6 separate regions of the Homo sapiens genome follow, and all the other regions are linked to region 4. The links are contacts of gene promoters, found by promoter capture Hi-C in human tissues and cell types (Jung and others, 2019). All regions are on one chromosome and are shown on one strand. Each heading gives the region's core, a stretch centred on a gene start or on the middle of the fragment in contact. The rest is flanking DNA. Distances are from core to core; before and after follow the strand shown. Region 1 holds the start of ERCC2 (ERCC excision repair 2, TFIIH core complex helicase subunit). Region 2 has its middle 13 kb from the start of FOSB. Region 3 overlaps CEACAM16-AS1 (CEACAM16, CEACAM19 and PVR antisense RNA 1). Region 4 holds the start of CLASRP (CLK4 associating serine/arginine rich protein). Region 5 holds the start of CEACAM16 (CEA cell adhesion molecule 16, tectorial membrane component). Region 6 overlaps CKM (creatine kinase, M-type).

The links. Contacts are between HindIII fragments. The study calls those that stand out against the background at their distance.
Region 1: a contact is called between the fragment with the promoter of ERCC2 here and the fragment with the promoter of CLASRP in region 4, in 6 of the 25 tissues and cell types used here (adrenal gland, aorta, dorsolateral prefrontal cortex and 3 more).
Region 2: a contact is called between a fragment that was not itself captured here and the fragment with the promoter of CLASRP in region 4, in 1 of the 25 tissues and cell types used here (heart left ventricle).
Region 3: a contact is called between a fragment that was not itself captured here and the fragment with the promoter of CLASRP in region 4, in 1 of the 25 tissues and cell types used here (spleen).
Region 5: a contact is called between the fragment with the promoter of CEACAM16 here and the fragment with the promoter of CLASRP in region 4, in 3 of the 25 tissues and cell types used here (heart left ventricle, heart right ventricle and liver).
Region 6: a fragment that was not itself captured here is called in contact with the fragment with the promoter of CLASRP in region 4 in 5 of the 25 tissues and cell types used here (aorta, lymphoblastoid cells, mesendoderm cells and 2 more).

Annotation. Positions count from the first base shown.
Region 1 is chr19:45,369,323-45,372,314 of GRCh38, reverse strand. It overlaps ERCC2 (ERCC excision repair 2, TFIIH core complex helicase subunit), which reads left to right and starts at 1,742. Exons shown (of 23, transcript NM_000400.4): 1 at 1,742-1,779; 2 at 2,083-2,182. The coding sequence starts at 1,775. RefSeq lists enhancers at 1,449-1,528, 2,147-2,988. The HindIII fragment of the contact is 25,658 bases long and covers 1-2,992 here.
Region 2 is chr19:45,453,886-45,456,897 of GRCh38, reverse strand. No RefSeq gene overlaps it. Among named protein-coding and RNA genes, the nearest start is that of FOSB, 13 kb to the left of the region's middle. RefSeq lists enhancers at 117-1,083, 1,072-1,321, 1,084-2,050, 2,358-2,417. The HindIII fragment of the contact is 7,912 bases long and covers 1-3,012 here.
Region 3 is chr19:44,715,316-44,718,172 of GRCh38, reverse strand. All of the region lies in intron 1 of CEACAM16-AS1 (CEACAM16, CEACAM19 and PVR antisense RNA 1), which reads left to right. Among named protein-coding and RNA genes, the nearest start is that of CEACAM16-AS1, 8.4 kb to the left of the region's middle. The HindIII fragment of the contact is 6,037 bases long and covers 1-2,857 here.
Region 4 is chr19:45,037,654-45,040,515 of GRCh38, reverse strand. CLASRP (CLK4 associating serine/arginine rich protein) reads right to left here and starts at 1,471. Exons shown (of 21, transcript NM_007056.3): 1 at 1,408-1,471; 2 at 205-332. The coding sequence starts at 303. RELB (RELB proto-oncogene, NF-kB subunit) reads right to left here. Exons shown (of 12, transcript NM_006509.4): 12 at 2,324-2,862. The coding sequence ends at 2,726. RefSeq lists an enhancer at 928-1,797. The HindIII fragment of the contact is 17,106 bases long and covers 1-2,862 here.
Region 5 is chr19:44,697,708-44,700,407 of GRCh38, reverse strand. It overlaps CEACAM16 (CEA cell adhesion molecule 16, tectorial membrane component), which reads right to left and starts at 1,257. Exons shown (of 7, transcript NM_001039213.4): 1 at 1,148-1,257. It overlaps CEACAM16-AS1 (CEACAM16, CEACAM19 and PVR antisense RNA 1), which reads left to right. Exons shown (of 2, transcript NR_186815.1): 2 at 1,231-1,370. The HindIII fragment of the contact is 25,622 bases long and covers 1-2,700 here.
Region 6 is chr19:45,307,828-45,310,846 of GRCh38, reverse strand. It overlaps CKM (creatine kinase, M-type), which reads left to right. Exons shown (of 8, transcript NM_001824.5): 6 at 2,315-2,438. Among named protein-coding and RNA genes, the nearest start is that of CKM, 14 kb to the left of the region's middle. RefSeq lists a silencer at 2,160-2,317. The HindIII fragment of the contact is 3,883 bases long and covers 1-3,019 here.

The sequences.
Region 1 (2,992 bases), core at 493-2,992, 330 kb before region 4:
TTGACCAGGCTGGTCTTGAACTCCTGACCTCGTGATCCATCTGCCTTGGCCTCCCAAAGTGCTGGGATTACAGGCATGAGCCACTGCACCCAGCCCATAATCAATCTTTATGGTGACTTGAAGTTTTCCTTCACAGCACTTTTGTACTTGTGATTATACACGTGCGCACACACACACACACACACACACACACACACATTTGAGATAGGTTTTCACTCCTGTTGCCCAGGCTGGAGTGCAGTGGCACAATCACTGCCCATTGCAACCTCTGCCTCCCAGGCCCAGGTGATTCTCCCACCTCAGCCTCCTGAGTATCTGGGACTACAGGTGCACGCCACCACGCCCAGCTAATTTTTGCATTTTTTGTAGAGACGGGTTTTCACCATGTTGCCCAGGCTGGTCTCTAGCTCCTGAGCTCAAGCAATGTACTCGCCTTGGCCTTCCAAAGTGTTGGAACCACAGGCACGAGCCACCACTCCAGGCTGTAATCATATATTCATTTGTATATTTAATATCTGTTCTTTGAGGCCAGGCCTGGTGCCTCACCCCTGTAATCCCAACAATTTGAAAGGCTGAGGGGAGAGGATCACTTGAACCTGCGAGTTTAACCAGCCTGGGCAACGTGGTGAGACCTCGTCTCTAAAAAAATTTAAAAAATAAAACTTAGCTGGGCTTGGTGGTGCACACCTGTGGTCCCAGCTACTCTGGAAGCTGAGGTGGGAGGATCGCTTGAGCCCAAGAGGTGGAGGCTGCAGTGAGCTGTGACTGTGCCACTGCACTCCAGCCTTGGCGACAGAGAAAGACCCTGTCTCAAGGAAAAAAATCTGTTCTTTGAGGGCAGGTGCTGAGGCTGTCATGGTCACCTTTCTGTTCCCAGGGGCCAGCACAGGATCAGACACATGGTAGATGCCACATAGCTATTTGTTGAAGAAACAAACAAAAGCTAGCATTTATGTTTTATTTATTAGTTATTATTATTAATATTTGAAATGGAGTTTCGCTTTTGTTGCCCAGGCTAGAGTGCGACGGCGCCATCTCTGCTCACTGCAACCTCTGCCTCCCAGGTTCAAGCAATTCTCCTGCTTCAGCCTCCCGAGTAGCTGGGATTACAAGCATTTGCCAGCACGCCCGGCTAATTTTGTATCTTTAGTAGAGACAGGTTTTCTCCATGTTGGTCAGGCTGGTCTTGAACTCCCGACCTCAGGTGATCCACCTGCCTCAGCCTCCCAAAGTGCTGGGATTACAGGCTTGAGCCACCGCGCCCGGCCTGCAAAGCCATTTCTAACTCTTGGGCCCAGAAAGGATCACCAATTTCCCTGTCATTCTCCGTTAGACTATTCGCTACTGAGACGATTTTTTTTTTTTTTTGAGACGAGGTGGAGGGGCGGGGGTTCTCGCTATCTTGCTCAAGCTGATCTCGAACTCCTGGGTTCGATCAATACTCAGACAATCTTGGCAGGCGCAGGAGGACCAAATTCTAGTGAATGAGATCGAGTCTCTCGGCTCTTTCCCTTCCATGTTTTCTTTTTGATTGGCCCTCGACGATCCTCAGTGACGCCTCCCGCACCGCCTCACCCGAGAGTCAGCCGCCCTCGCTTTTCCGTGCGCACGCGCAGTATCCCGATTGGCTCTGCCCTAGCGGATTGACGGGCAGGTTAGCCAATGGTCTCGTAATATAGGTGGAGCGAGCCCTCGAGGATGTCCACGACCCGGCCTCTCGCTGAATATTCATGAGGGAGGCGGGTCGACCCCGCTGCACAGTCCGGCCGGCGCCATGAAGTGAGAAGGGGGCTGGGGGTCGCGCTCGCTAGCGGGCGCGGGGGGTCTTGAAGATGGGGTCATCGGTGGGCGCGCCTGGGTCCCCAAGGGGGCGAGGGGAGGGTGAAGGGGTGGGACGGGGGCAGCCGCAGGGAGCAGCAGTGATAGCGAGGAGACACTGAGGGGGCCCCGAGGCTCCTGAGGACCTGAGGGTTACCGGGGGCGCCGGGCCCGTCACCCTTCTCTGGGCTCGACGACCGGGCACTGTGGAGGCGGGAGAGGGGCTGAGGGGACGGGAACTGACCCAGCAGCCCCTGCCGCCAGGCTCAACGTGGACGGGCTCCTGGTCTACTTCCCGTACGACTACATCTACCCCGAGCAGTTCTCCTACATGCGGGAGCTCAAACGCACGCTGGACGCCAAGGTGGGTGGCCGGTGGGCCCGACCCGCCCACTCGACCGGTGGGGCTGCCACGCCTGGGCCTAAGACAGATTGCAGGACGTCTGGATTTTAGAAGTCCGAGGTCCCTGGGAATCCAGGACCCCATAATCTTCCGTTATCTAAAACAATAATGGTGAATAGGCTGGGCGCGGTGGCTCGCGCCTGTAATCCCAGAGCTTTGGGAGGACGAGGCGGGCGGATCACTTGAGGTCAGGAGTTGGAGACCAGCCTGGCCAACACGGTGAAACCCCGTCTGTACTAAAAATACAAAAATTAGCCAGGTGTGGTGGCGGGCGCCTGTAATCCCACCTACTCGGGAGGCTGAGGCAGGAGGATCGCTTGAGGCCAGGAGTTGGAGGCTGCAGTGAGCCATGATTGTGCCACTGCATTCCAGCCTGGGCAATAGTGACACTTGTCTCTTAAAAAAGAAGGGAGAAAAGTTCACTATATATCAGCTACTGTGCCAAATATTTAACCTGCAATTTCTCACAATCCTCATAGTCATGTTATGAGGAAGGTTTTATTATTAGGCCCATTTTATTTTATTTATTTATTTTTGAGATTGAATTACAGGTGCGCGCCACCACATCTGGCTAATTTTTTGTATTTTTAGTAGAGACGGGGTTTCACCTTGTTGGCCCAGCTGGTCTTGAACTTCTGACCTCAGGTGGTTCACCTGCCTCAGCCTCCCAAAGTGCTGGGATTACAGGTGTGAGCCACCACGCCTGGCTTTAGGCTCATTTTAGAGATAGGGATACTGAGGTCTGGGGAGGTGAAGGTACTTGCCTAAGAC
Region 2 (3,012 bases), core at 299-2,798, 420 kb before region 4:
TGGCAGAAAGTATGTTCCCCGTAAGCATAGCTATTACAATAATAGTGATTTTTTTTTTTTTTTTTTTTTGCTATAGGATCTTGTTCTGTTGTCTAGGCTGGAGTACAGTGGTGCAATCAATAGCTCACTGCAGTCTCAAACTCCAACACTCCAGCAATCCACCCTCCACAGCCTCCTGAGTACCTGGGACTACAGGTGCACACCACCACATCCAGCTAATTTTTAAATTTTTTCTTTGTAGAGAAGGGGTCTTGCTATGATGTCCAGGCTGGTCTTGAACTTCTGGCCTCCAAGGGATCCGCCTACCTCTGCCTCACGAGTCACTGTGCCTGGCCTAATAATGCTTGTTAATACCCCCACTCAACAGATGAGGAAACTGTCCCTTAGGCCTCAGTCCCTTAGGGAACTTGCAGGCTTATGGGTAGTGAGGCCCCGCTGGCCTGGGGTGGGTGGAGTCAGGGCCTCCCCAGGCCGGGTGTTGAGTGTGCGTGTGTGCCTTTGCGTGTGTAAGCACATTGGTGATTCCATTGTCCTCCTGACTGACTCTTACGACCAAGTCTCTTACGATTTGGTGATTCTCTGCGCAAACACTCAGACCCCATCCCACCCCTGTGGGTCGCCCAGCCGCTGCCCACAAGCCGCAGCCTCCCCGTCACACCCACACGTGCTTCCTCCTCACCCGCCAGGGCCTCCCCACAGGCTCTCCTTCCCAAACTTTCTCCTTCCTGCCCCACATGGACGCCTGTGGCTGGGTGGTCTCTGGCTGTAGCCACCCTGTCCCTGACTCAGGCCCCATGCCCCCTCACTGACCCCTGTGTGCCCGGCCCAACCCCCGCAGCCAGACGGCCACTCGGGGGTGTTGCGGGGGGTCACAGCAGGCCACGTGCCCGGGGTGGCTGAATTCCGCCTGTGATTCAGTCAGCTTGTCTAGGCTGCCGGGGGTGCCCTGGCCGGGTGATGTCAGCGGCCAGGTATGTGGCTGGGGTTTCTCCCAGGGTGACTCAGGCTCCTGAACTACCCTCTCCCTCCTGCAGACACTCTGGGCTGCTGTCCAGGGCAGGCAGCCGGCTGGCTGCCTGACACTCCCTTCCCTGGCCCCCTCCACGCCCTCTTCAGCACAGAGCTGTGGGAACAGCAGGGCTGGGGGACTGGCACAAGAGGGATCCCAGAGGCCAGGGCCCCAGCCCAGCCTTCCCCTAAGACCAGGACTCACAAGTGGTTGTAGGATGACATTCATTCGTTCATTCAATCAGCCATTCAAATATTTAATCAGCACACCTACACACACACACACACACACACACACACACACACACACACTGCAGTCACACACTCTAGGTGCTGGGGACAGAGCAGGAAACAAGACAGACAAAAATAAAAATTTCCTCAAATGGCCAGACATGGTGGCTCACTCCTGTAAACCCAGCACTTTGGGAAGCCAAGGCAGGAGGATTGCTTGAGCCCAGAAGTTTGAGACCAGCCTGGGCAACAGAGTGAGACCCCATCTCTACAAAAAAATAAGCCTGTAGCCCCAGCTACTCAGGAGGCTGAGGCAAGAGGATCACTTAAGCCCAGGAGGTCAAGGCTGCAGTGGGTTGTCATCATGCCACTGTGCTCCAGCCTGTATGACAGAGCCAGAGCCAGACCCTATCTAAAAAAAAAAAAAAAATTAGCTGGGCGTAGTGGTGGGCACCTGTTATCCCAGCCACTTGGGAGCCTGAGGCAGGAGAATCGCTTGAACCCGGGAGGCGGAGGTTGCAGTGAGCCGAGATCGTGCCACTGCACTCCAGCCAGGAAAGAGAGTGAGACTCTGTCTCAAAAAAAAAAGAAAAAAGAAAGAAAGAAAATTCCTCACAAAGCCTTTATCAGTATCTGCACCTAGTGCATTATTATTATTATTATTATTGTTTTTGACACAAAGTCTCACTCTGTCGCCCAGGCTGGAGTGCAGTGGCATGATCTCGGTTCACTGCAACCCACACCTCCCGGGTTCAAGTTATTCTCCTGCCTCAACCTCCCGAGTAGCTGGAATTACAGGCACACACCACCAAGCCTGGTTAATTTTTTTTGTATTTTTAGTAAAGACAGGGTTTTGCCATGCTGGCCAGGCTGGTCTCGAACTCCAGACCTCAGGTGATCCACCCTTCTCGGCCTCCCAAAGTGCTGGGATTACAGGTGTGAGCCACCGTGCCTGGCCTATTGTTATTGCTATTATTGCCCCCCTCCAAATTCCACTAGCCTGTGAAACTCAGGCTGGTTTCTCTTCCTCCAGGCAGCTCTCCAAACAGCTCATGTTTTTCTTTCTTTTTTTTTTTTTGAGAGGGAGTCTTGCTCTGTCACCAGGCTGGAGTGCAGTGGCGCAATTTCGGCTCACTGCAACCCCCGCCTCCCGAGTTCAAGTGATTCTCCTGCCTCTGCCTCCTGAGTATCTGGGACTACAGGCACGCGCCACCACGCCCACCTAATTTTTGTATTTTTAGTAGAGATGGGGTTTCACCAGGTTGACCAGGATGATCTTGATCTCTTGACCTTGCGATCTGCCTGCCTCGGCCTCCCAAAGTGCTGGGATTACAGGTGTAGGCCACCAGGCCCAGCAAAACAGTTCATTTCTTATAGTTCCCAGCCCCAAAATAGTCCTAGGAGGAAGTCCTTTCTGGAGTCTGACCCTCAGTCTGCCTGCTTCAAATGCGCTCTTTCATCCCTCTTTCACTTCCCACTTTCCCAGTCCCATGGAGTGATTTGAACCTCAATTCCATCCCGTCCCAACTTCACCCTTCATTTACCTTTCCTGAAACCAGACCACGGCTGGGCCTTGTAGCCATTGGGGTGTTCCAGATGCAGCTTCATTGAGTCCCAACTGGCCCTGGAGAAGGTCTGGAACATGCCCATGGTATAGGAAGGAAAGTGAGACTCAGGGCATTTGGGTACCCAGTAACACAGGACTACAGAGCTAAAGCCTGCATCTGCAACCCAGATTCTAGACACGCACACGCACATCCAAGGACACACACA
Region 3 (2,857 bases), core at 58-2,557, 320 kb after region 4:
AAAAAAAAAAAAAAAGAAAAAAAAAAGAAAGAAAATTCTTTCAAGTCCCCACCCTGGAGAGACAGGTTTTCTGGGCCCAGGCAGAAGCCTGGGATATATAACTTATTTTATTTTATTTTAATTTTTGAGACAGGGTCTTGTTCTGTCTCATAGGCTGGAGTGCAATGGCACCATCACAGCTCACTACAGCCTCAAAATCCTAGGCGCAAGCAATGCTCCCATCTCAGCCTCCCAGGTAGCTGGGATGACAGACAAGTACTGCCATGCCCAAATAATTCTGTTTTTTTTTTTTGTTTTTTGTTTTTTTTTGTAGAGATAGGGTCTTGCAATGTTGCCCAGGCTGTTCTTGAACTCCTGGCCTCAAGTAATCCTCCTGCCTCAGCTTCCCAAAGTGATGGGATAACAGGCGTTAGCCAGTGCTCTTCGCAGGGATGTTTACGTTAATAAACAGGAGATTTGGGAAATGTATTAATAGTTCCATTTCAAAGGGAAGCTTTGAGGAGCAAGTCAGAGAACCTGTGCTGAGAGCACCTACCCTGGAACCTGCGATGATGAGCATCGTGTTTCTAAAAGCTCATACACATTTATTATTATTGCTTTTATTACTTTTTTTTTTTTTTGAGACAGAGTCTCACTCTGTCTCCAGGCTGGAGTGCAGTGGCACGATCTAGGCTCACTGCAAACTCCGCCTCCTGGGTTCGAGCGAATTCTTCTGCCTCAGCCTCCCAAGTAGCTGGGACTACAGGTATGTGCCACCACGGCCAACTAATTTTTGTATTTTTTAGTAGAGACAGGGTTTCACCATGTTGGCCAGGATTGTTTTAATCTCTTGATCTTGTGATCTGCCTATTACTTTTTTTTTTTTTTGAGATGGAGTCCACTTTGTTGCCCAGGCCGGAGTGCAGTGGTGCAATCTCCGCTCACAGAAACCTCTGCCTCCTGGGTTCAAGTGATTCTCATGCCTCAGCCTCCCAAGTAGCTGGGATTACAGGCGCACATGATGACATCTGGCAATTATTTGTATTTTTAGTAGAGACGGGGTTTCACCATGTTGGCTAGGCTGGTCTCGAACTCCTGACCTTAGGTGATCTGCCTGCCTCAGCCTCCCAAAGTGCTGGGATTACAGGCATGAGGCACCGCGCCCGGCCTATTATTACTTTTTGTCAGCAAATCTCAGTGATTACAATGTAAAGAACATCATATATTACATAAAGCGAAGCAAACCTGCTTAGTAGGATTAAGTTCGCCAGGACAAATGTTATCTTTGAAGCAGGGTGTGGTGGCTCACACCTGTAATCCCAGCACTTTAGGAGGCTGAAGTGAAAGGATTGCTTGAGCCCAGGAGTTTGAGACCAGCCTGGACAACAGAACAAGACCCTGACTCCACAAAAAATGCAACAATTGGCCGGCGTGGTGGCTCATGCCTGTAGTCCCAGCTGCTTGGGAGACTGCAGTGAGCCATGATTGCATCACTGTATTCCAGTCTGGATAATGCTGAGACCCGGTCTGGAAAAAAAAAAAAAAAAAAAAAAAAATGGCCGGGCGCGGTGGCTCATGCCTGTAATCCCAGCACTTTGGGAGGCTGAGGCGGGCGGATCACCTGAGGTCAGGATCACCTGAGACCAACCTGACCAAAATGGAGAAACCCCGTCTCTACTAAAAATGCTAAAAAAAAAAAAAAATTAACCGGGTGTGGTGGCTCATGTCTGTAATCCCAGCTACTGGGGAGGCTGAGGCAGGAGAATCGCTTGAACCCAGGAAGCAGAGGTTGTGGTGAGCCGAGATCATGCATTGCACTCCAGCCTGGGCAACAGGAGCAAAACTCCGTCTCAAAAAAAAAAAAAAAAGAAAAAGAAAAATGTTATCTTTGCTTTTTCTATCTGCCTGTTGTTAAAATCTAACACCTTAGTCTGGGTCATAGGCATTTATTGAGCATCCATGTTTCAGGCTCATTACTTGTATTAACTAATGTGATCTTTTCAACAATCCTAGGAGGCAGGGGCAGTATTATCATCTCCATTTTACGAGGAGGAAAAGCAAGCAATGTACCCAAGTTCCCACAGCTAAAAAGAATTCTGTCTGTCCTCAGAGCTGTGCCCTGAAACCCTCTGCCCTGCTGAAGAATGGAGAGGACTCCCCCACCAGCACCTCCACCTAGGACACATGGGAACTGTGGGACTTGGAGCAAAGTTTTCAAGTCTCTGTGCCTTAGTTTCCTCACCTGTAAGTTGGGGGAATGATAGTAACTGCTCTTAAGAGCTGCTGTAGGAATTGAGATCTTGCATGAAAAAGGATAAAACCAATTGATATGGTTTAGTTCTTAGTCCCCACCCAAATCTCATGTCCAGTTATGATCCTCAGTGTAGGAGGAGGGACCTCGTGGGAGGTGATTGGATCGTGGGGGCAGTTTCTAATGTTTTAGCACCATCCTCCTAGTGCTGCTTGTTTAAAAGTGTGTAGCACCCCACCTTCCTCTCCTGCCGGCCATGTGAAGACGTGCTTGCTTCCCTTTCACCATCTGCCATGATTGTAAGTTTCCTGAGGTCTCCCCAGAAGCAGAAGCCTGTATAGCCCACAGAATCATGAGCTGATTAAACCTCTTTTCTTTATAAATTACCCAGTCTCAGGTATGTCTTTATAGCAATGTGAGAATGGACTAATACACTGATGCTCGAGATATAGGAGTGATTATTATTTTGTGGTTATTGTTATTATTCTTTCCTACACTCTTAATGAAGGGGATTGCACTACTTGAGATAATTCAGTAAAAGAGCACAGAGATGCCCAGAGGGACGGAGGACCTGGTCTTGGGGACATTTGAGCCTCCACCACACCCTGAGGCTATGGGATTTTGCTT
Region 4 (2,862 bases), core at 222-2,721:
ACACCAAACGACACAGTATGCTACAACAAACAGAAGCCCTTGGGATCCCACCAATGATTATCCTCAAGAAAAGATTAATGAATATACTCCTGAGGAAATGAGCCTCTTGTCTTGACATACTTCCAAGCCCAGATTTTACCAGGATGACCAGCTGTGCCCCCCAACCCAGGGTCCCTCACCCCAGACAAAAGGCCAGTTACTCACGATCTTTTCATAATACTCCCGTCTCCGCTCCGCCCTCTTCTTGTAGTCGACCATCATGCCTCGAAGCTTCCGCTCATGCTTCCGAGCCTCGTGCCACATTGTGGTGAGGCCAAGCCTGGGGCCTCAACCTGAGGGATGAAGGGACCAGGAAAGTCAGATGGTCTGTGAAACCCGTATGGGCAGAATCAAAGTCATCTAACAAGTTGGTGGCAGAGTCGATCCCAAACAACACATCTCTTAGCTTCAGGGAGCAGAAGTGAAGCTGCAGAACAGTATGCCAGATGTTCAAGTCCATCCCTAACAACTTCGATCTAGAAGCTTGGGCATTCTGAAAAACCCTCAGGTGATTCTGAGGTGAGCATCACTGGGAAAGGGGTGTCCTAGATTCCACGCGCTGGAGTCGGGAATGAAAGGTTTTGAAACATCAGCAGTGTTTGAAGTAGGGTCAGAAGGCAAACCCTGAGCACTTAAGGCTGGAGCTCAAGAGAAAGAGAAGAACTGAAAAGGCTCCCACTAGGGGCCATGCGTGGGGTTGGGTATGAGTCTGGGTGGTAGAGGGATAAGGAGAATAAGGATGAAGGCAGGTGGAGGAAATCGGAGAAAGCTTTTAAGGGAACAGTGCAGTTGTATGAAGGTGGAGGTCGAGGACAGGTGAAGGGCGTGGCGGAAGATGAAGATGCTAGAGGGAGTGGGAACACGGGGAGGGAGTGTTGCAAGGAGACCAGAGTGAAGCTGAGGTCTAAAGATGGGATCTAGATGGCGGGGTGGGGAGAGCATCCAAAGAAAAAGAGCGTAGAGCCTGAGAGAGGCGGAGCTGGCTGACAGGAGGGCGTGGGCTGAGCTTGGGGGCAGGGCTTGCGGGAAAGGGCGGAGACCGAAGGTTTGGACGGGGCTTGTGGATCGCGTCGCGGCCTGAGGATTTGGGCTGGGTTTTTTTTTTGTTGTTTTTTTTTTTGACAAGGGGGCGGGGCCTGTGATAAGCTGCTGGGCCGAAGGCCGAGTTCGACGCGGCAACTTCTGGCCCACAGCCGGGGCACGGGCTCGGCCTGAGGCCCGTCAGGCCTAATGGGGTGAGGGACGAGCGATCCTCGGGGCCGGGACGCAGCAGAAGCCCACAGCAGCATGGGGAGAGCCTGAGGAAAGGGAGAAGCTGGGCTGAGGCCTGCCCGAAAACCGGGAGGTCGAGCCGCAGCCTGCACTCACCGGCTGGTCGCCGCCTCCCACCGCTGCGCTCGCGCGCGGCCCGCACCGGAAGCGGAAATGAAAGGCCGCGCTAGGGGGAGGGGGCGGAGCATGGTGGAGGGCCGCGCAGCGCACTTCCGCCGACGAGAGAGGCGGGTCCTAGAGTCGAGAGGGGCGGGATCCCGAGGAAGAAGTGGGAGAGCGGAGAAGGGAAGAGCTTGGATGCTTTATCTTTTTATCTTTTTTATTTTATTTATTTATTTAATTTTATTTTTTTGAGACGGAGTCTCTCTTTGTCTCCCAGGCTAGAAGGCAGTGGCGCGATCTAGGCTCACTGCAACCTTTGCCTCCTGGGTTTCAGCTATTCTCCCACCTCAGCCTCCCGAGTAGCTGGGACTACAAGCGCGCGCCACCAAGCCCGGCTAATTTTTGTATTTTTAGTAGAGATGGGGTTTCACCATTTTGGTTAGGCTGGTCTCAAACTCCTGACCTCAGGTGATCCACCTGCCTCGGCCTCCCAAAGTGCTGGGATTACAGCCATGAGCCACCATGCCCGGTCTCATTTTTTATTTTCATTTTCATTTTTTATTTTTTTGAGACACAGCCTCGCGCTGTCGCCCAAGCTGGAGTGCAGTGGTGCGGTCTTGGCTCACTGCAACGTCCACCTCCTGGGCTCAAGCGATCCTCCCACCTCAGCCTCTAGAGTAGCTGGGATTACAGGCGCGCAGCACCACGCCCGGCTAATTTTTGTATTTTTTGTAGAGACTAGGTTTCGTCATGTTGCCCAGGCTGGTCTCAAACTCGTGAGCTCAAGCGATCCTCCTGCTTTGGCCTCCCAAAGTGCTGGGATGACAGGCCTGAGCCCCCAGCCTGGAGGCTTTCTTTGCTACTAAGGGACTAGGGCGTTTCCCAAGCCCAGAACAGACGAAACCCCGGAGGCTCAAAAACTCATCTTTATTGGGAAGACTCTGAACAACCAACCTACCCCCCACCTTCAAGTCTGGGGAGGGAGGGCCAGGAATCTGCCCCCTCCTCCCATATGTACAATCTTTTCCGAATCCTACTGGAGAAGGTGCCCCCACATGTGGGGACAGAGGCAGCTGTAACAAGCTAGTGCACGGGAGCCATGTCCCTTTTCCTCTCCGGACTCAGTTTCCTCATCTGTAAAATGGGCTCAAGGGGAAACCCGTGCAACGGAGCTTCTCGCCAAGGCTGAATATGTCCACTTCAGAAGCATGAGGAAGGGCCAAGGGGATGGGGGTGCTAGACATCCTGGTTGGGATTGCACGGCTCCTCCACCTCCCTCCCCACCCAGTGCCCCTCCTCTGGCATCGCGGGGCTACGTGGCTTCAGGCCCCGGGGATAGGAGGCCGCCCCCAAAGGCCGCCTCGCGGTAATGATTGGGGAACATGTTGCTGCCCACAAGGCTGGCGGTGCCTCCATCCCCGGGGCCCGGGGCCTGGTACGAGTCCAGTG
Region 5 (2,700 bases), core at 8-2,507, 340 kb after region 4:
CCAGCACTTTGGGAGGCTGAGATGGGCAGATCACCTGAGGTGAGGAGTTTGCAACCAGCCTGACCAACATGGCGAAACCCCGTCTCTATTAAAAATATAAGTTAGCTGGGTGTGGTGGCTAACGCCTGTAATCCCAACACTTTGGGAGGCCAAGGCAGGTGGCTCACGAGGTCAGGAGTTCGAGACCAGCCTGGCCAATATGGTGAAACCTCGTATGTACTAAAAATATAAAAAATTAGCTGGGTGTGGTGGTGTGCACCTGTAGTCCCAGCTACTCGAGAGGCTGAGGCAGGAGAATCTCTTGAACCCAGGAGGTGGAGGTTGCAGCGAGCTGAGATCACACCACTGCACTCCAGCCTGGGTGACAGAGTGAGACTCTATCTCAAAAAACAAAAGCAAAAACAAAAAATAAAAGTTAGCCGGTCATGGTGGCACATGCCTGTAATCCCAGCTACTAGGGAGGCTGAGGTAGGAGAATCGCTTGAATCCAGGAGGTAGAGGTTGCAGTGAGCCGAGATCCTGCCACTGCACTCCAGCCTGGGTGACAGAGCAAGACTCCATTTCAAAAACAAACAAAAAAATAGAGATGATATGGACCCTACTTCAGGTTTGTTGACAGCAGTTAGTGAGAGGCTACAAGTCAGGGATTTAAGCCAGAGCCTGGTGGACGTGGGTCTGATTGGTATGCCTGTTATTAAAAGTATAGGCTCTGGCCGGGCGTGGTGGCTCATGGCCGGACGCAGTGGCTCATGCCTGTAGTCCTAGCACTTTGGGAGGCCGAGGTGGGTGGATCAACTGAGGTCAGGAGTTCAAGACCAGCCTGGCCAGCATGGTGAAACCCTGTCTCTACTAAAAATACAAAAATTAGCTGGGTGTGGTCGCGGGCACCTGTAATCCCAGCTACTTGGGAGGCTGAAGCAGGAGAATTGCTTGAACCCTGGGCAAAAGAGTGAAACTCCATCTCAAAAAAAAAAAAGTATAGGCTCTGGACATAGTTCCACTGTTTCCTACCTCCAGGACCCTGGGCAATTTATGGACTCTGCCAAGCCTCAGTTTCCTTATTTGTAAAATAGGGAAAACAATAGTACTCACATCACAGGGCTGTTGAAAGGATTAAGTAGATACACATGTGAAGTACAGTACTTACCACGACTGGCGCAGAGTAAATGCTCAGTAAATCACTCATTCACTTATTGGACAAATACTGAATGAGCACCTATTGTTTGCCAGGTGCTGTTCTAGGCGCTGAGGATGCAGCCGTGCACAAGACGGATGAAATCCCTGCCCTCAGGGGGCCGACATTTGCGGAGTAAATAAAGGAAAGGTAAATATCTTCCACGTCAGATTGAAAAATAAAGTCAGAAAGGGGATTTGCCATTTTATTTTTTGTAGAGATGGGATCTCGCTATGTTGCTCTGCCTGGTCTCAAACTCTTGGCCTCAAGTGATCTTCCCACCTTGGCCTCCCAAAGTGCTGGGATTACAGCCATGAGCCACTGCCCCTGGCCTGGTTTGCTACTTTAAATTGGGGTGGAGGGAGGGTAACAGGGAAGGTGTCTCTGAGATGATGCTGGGCAGGAGCCGAGGGGGTTGTGGTGCCAGAGCTGCTGATAGCTGTGTTCTTATGACCTGCATCCTGATGGCTTCTGAGTCCTGGTTCCTCTGAGGCCTCTGCAGCCTGCTTCCGGGCAGGGGGCCACACCTGTGCTCACCTGTCCTGGTTTGCCTCCAGCACTGTGTCCTGGGCTGCCCTCGTGGGGCAGGGCTCTAACAAGGGGGAGAAGGCCCTGAGGAGGTGCGGGTGAGGCCAGGTGAGAGGCACAGAGGATGTCCTGGCGCCTCCTGCTCCCCTCTCCCCACCTGTGACCTCACCTCACTCTTCTGCGTCCTGGCCCAGAGCACTGGGACCTCATCCCAGTATCAATCAGGATGCCTCCCTGATGTCCCTGGGCACCTCTCACTCACCTTGTCCCAAACTGACCTTGGCATCTTCCCCCAGAAGTGTATCTTCCCCTGGTGCCCTTATCAGGGAAGGCGCCACTACCCACCTCATCGCTGGGAAAAGAGACCTGGGGCCTCATCCCTGATGCCTCCCCCTACTCCCCGAACACGCCACCCCTTCTGGCAACTGACTCTACGTATATCTTCTCTCCCTCCCTGAAGCCCCTGCCCTGGTCTAGGTGACCACTCCACCACCCCACCTTGCCTGGGTCCTCCTGTCTCCCCACCAGCCTCCTCCCTAGTCTCTGGCCCTGGTCTCCCCGACTCCCATTGCCCCTCCACATGGCAGACAGAGGCTCTTTCCAAAACAAAAACCTGCCTCTGCCCCTCCGTGCTCAGAACCTGCTGTGGCTCCCCAGTGCCCTTGGGAGGAAGCCCAGGTTCCTCACTGTAGCCCAGGAGGCCCTGCCCGGCCTGACTCCTGCCCACCTGACCAGCTACATAGAATACCACTTGCTTCCGGGAACCCTCTGCTTCAGTTCTTCTGTTTCACTTGCACTCTACCCAGAATATCCCTGCTTCCCTCTGCTCTATTCCACTGCCTTCCCCAAACCCTCTCCTCCAGGAAGCCCTCCTGGACTTCAGGGCCTGGAATTCCCTGTCTCAGCCCTGACTGCCTTGGGTTCTCGCTGTCTGGGGCTGGGTCTTTTTCCCCCACTGGCCTGGGAGCCTCAGCTGGGCACGGCTGGGCTGTCACCAC
Region 6 (3,019 bases), core at 353-2,852, 270 kb before region 4:
GTGAGCTGAGATCGTGCCACTGCACTCCAGCCTGGGCGACAGGAGACTCCGTCTCAAAAAAAAAAAAAAAAAAAAAAAAAAAAAAAAGCCAGGCGTGATGGCGTATACCTGTGGTCCCAGCTACTCGAGAGGCTGAGGATCAGCTGGGCCCAGAGGATTGAGGTTACTGTGAATCATGACCGAGGTACTGCACTCCAGCTACCTGTCTCAAAAATAAGAACTCAGACTTGAACCGTACTCCCTAGGTTCAAATCCCAGCTCTACCATTTACTAACTTTACTAGCTTTGTGACCTTGGGCAACTTATTTTATTTTTCTCTACCCCAGTTTCCTAGCTATAGGATAGGGATCACAATAATTTGTAGTTTCTGGTGTTCTTGTGAGGATTAAATGAGTTAATTTATGTAAAGTATTAAAAGCAGTGCCTGGGCCAGGCGCGGTGGCTCACGCCTGTAATCCCAGCACTTTGGGAGGCCAAGGCGGGCGGATCACGAGGTCAGGAGATCGAGACCATCCTGGCTAACATGGTGAAACCCCGTCTCTACTAAAAATACAAAAAATTAGCTGGGCTTGGTGGCAGGCGCCTGTAGTCCTACTTACTCGTGAGGCTGAGGCAGGAGAATGGCGTGAACCCGGGAGGCGGAGCTTGAAGTGAGCCAAGATCGCATCACTGCACTCCAGCCTGGGCGACAGACCAAGACTCTGTCTCAAAAAAAAAAAAAAAAAAAAAAGCAGTGCCTGGTATACACTAAGTGTTCAGTACATCTTGGTTATTCGTCTTATCTTTATTATAAAGTATTATTGCTAGACTTGTTTTGACTCTTTGAATCCCTGATTCAGATAGTCAAAGATTTAGAGAACCTAGGTTTCAATCGATGAAGGGAGCCTGGGTGCTAAGATATACAGATGGGATGATTCTAAGATTTCAAGATTTTAAATATTTTTAGGTTTTAAGATTCCACTCATTTATTTATTTATTTATTTTGAGATGGACTCTCACTCTGAGGCCCAGGCTGGAGTGCAGTGGGTTGATCTCGACTCACTGAAACCTCCATCTCCCGGGTTCAAACGATCCTCTCACCCTCCGCCTCCTTAGTAGCTAGGACGACAGGCATGTGCCACTGTGCCCAGCTAGTTTTCGTATTTTTGGTAGAGACAGCGTTCTGCCATGTTGCTCAGGCTGGTCTCGAACTCTTCACCTTAAGTGATCCGCCCACCTCAGCCTCCCAAAGTGCTGGGATTACAAGCGTGAGCCACCATGCCTGCCCTCAGGTTTTTTTTTTTTTTTTTTTGAGACAGGGTCTTGCTCTGTTGCCCAGGCTGGAGTGCAGTGGTGGGATCATAGCTCGCTGCAGCCTGGACCTTCCAAGGTCAAGTGATCCTCCCGCCTCAGCCTCCCCAGTGGCTTGGACTACAGGCATGTGTCCCACCATGCCTGCTAATTTTTTAAATTTTGTAGATATGTGGGTCTTGCCATGTTGCCCAGGGTAGTCTTGAACTCCTGGGCTCAAGCAATCCTCCGGCCTTGGCCTCCCAAAGTGCTGGGATTACAGGCATGAGCCACCACACCCGGCCATTTCCGGATCTTAATATTTTATGTTCTTTTTTTTTTTTTTTTTTGAGATGGAGTCTCGCTCTGTTGCCCAGGCTGGAGTGCAGTGGCGCGATCTCGACTCACTGCAAGCTCCACCTCCCGGGTTCTCGCCATTCTCTTGCCTCAGCCTCCTGAGTAGCTGGGACTACAGATGCCCGCCACCATGCCCAGATTTTTTTTTGTATTTTTTAGTAGAGACAGGGTTTCGACGTGTTAGCCAGGATGGTGTCGATCTCCTGACCTTGTGATCCGCCCGCCTCGGCCTCCCAAAGTGCTGGGATTACAGGCGTGAGCCACCGCACCCAGCCTTAATATTTTATGTTCTAAGATCCTGCTTCTGAGATGCTAGGATTGGGAGCTAACACACTACGATGGGAAGATTTTCTGGTCCTGAAACCAGATGTAGGATTACCAAGTGTTATCAGTTCTGATCCCAAGCTTCTGTTTGTCAAACATCCTGAGATCCCAAGGATCTATAATAATACTGTTCAAAGACTTAAGTCCCTAAAAGTCCTTGATCCCAGGATTCAGCGTTTTGCAGATCCTGTGACATTAGAGTCTACAGGTTTAAGCTTCTGCGTTTTGAGGAGGCAGATGCCACCCACCTCCCACCCCTCAGGCCCTCTTCCCCCATCGGTGGGCAGATGTTTTGGGGGAGGGCTGGGAATGGGGTTCCCACGGGGCTGACACCTTGGCCTCTTGCTGCGGCACCTTACTCTAGGCACAATGACAACAAGAGCTTCCTGGTGTGGGTGAACGAGGAGGATCACCTCCGGGTCATCTCCATGGAGAAGGGGGGCAACATGAAGGAGGTTTTCCGCCGCTTCTGCGTAGGGCTGCAGAAGGTGGGTGTCTGCCCTTAGCTGCTGACTTCTGACTCCACCTTGAACGCCCCACCTGCTTTCCGAGGCCCCGCCCCTTCCCCTATACTAAGCCCTGCCCCACCCATTTTCCAGGGCCCTGCCCCCCGGACCTGGCTCCACCCCATGCCAAACCCCGCCCCCCAAAACTAGCCCCACCCGCTTTTCAGGGCCCCGCCCCTGGACCCAGCTCCACCCTATGCCCAAGCCCCGCCCGTAAGGATCCGCCTTCAGGCCGGGAGCGGTGGCTCACGCCTGTAATCCCAGCACTTTGGGAGGCTGAGGAGGGTCAGGAGTTCAAGACCAGCCTGGCCAACATGGTGAAACCCCGTCTCTATACTAAAAAATTAATAAATAAATAAATTATCCAGGCGTAGTGGCGCGCGCCTGTAGTCCCAGCTACTCGGGAGGCTGAGGCAGGAGAATCGCTTGAACCTGGGAGGCAGAGGTTGCAGTGAGACGAGATCACGCCATTGCACTCCAGCCTGGGTGACACAGAGAGACTCTGGAAAAAAAAAAAAAAAAAACCCGCCTTCAAAGCGTTCTTAGTCCCCGCCCCTCAAAAT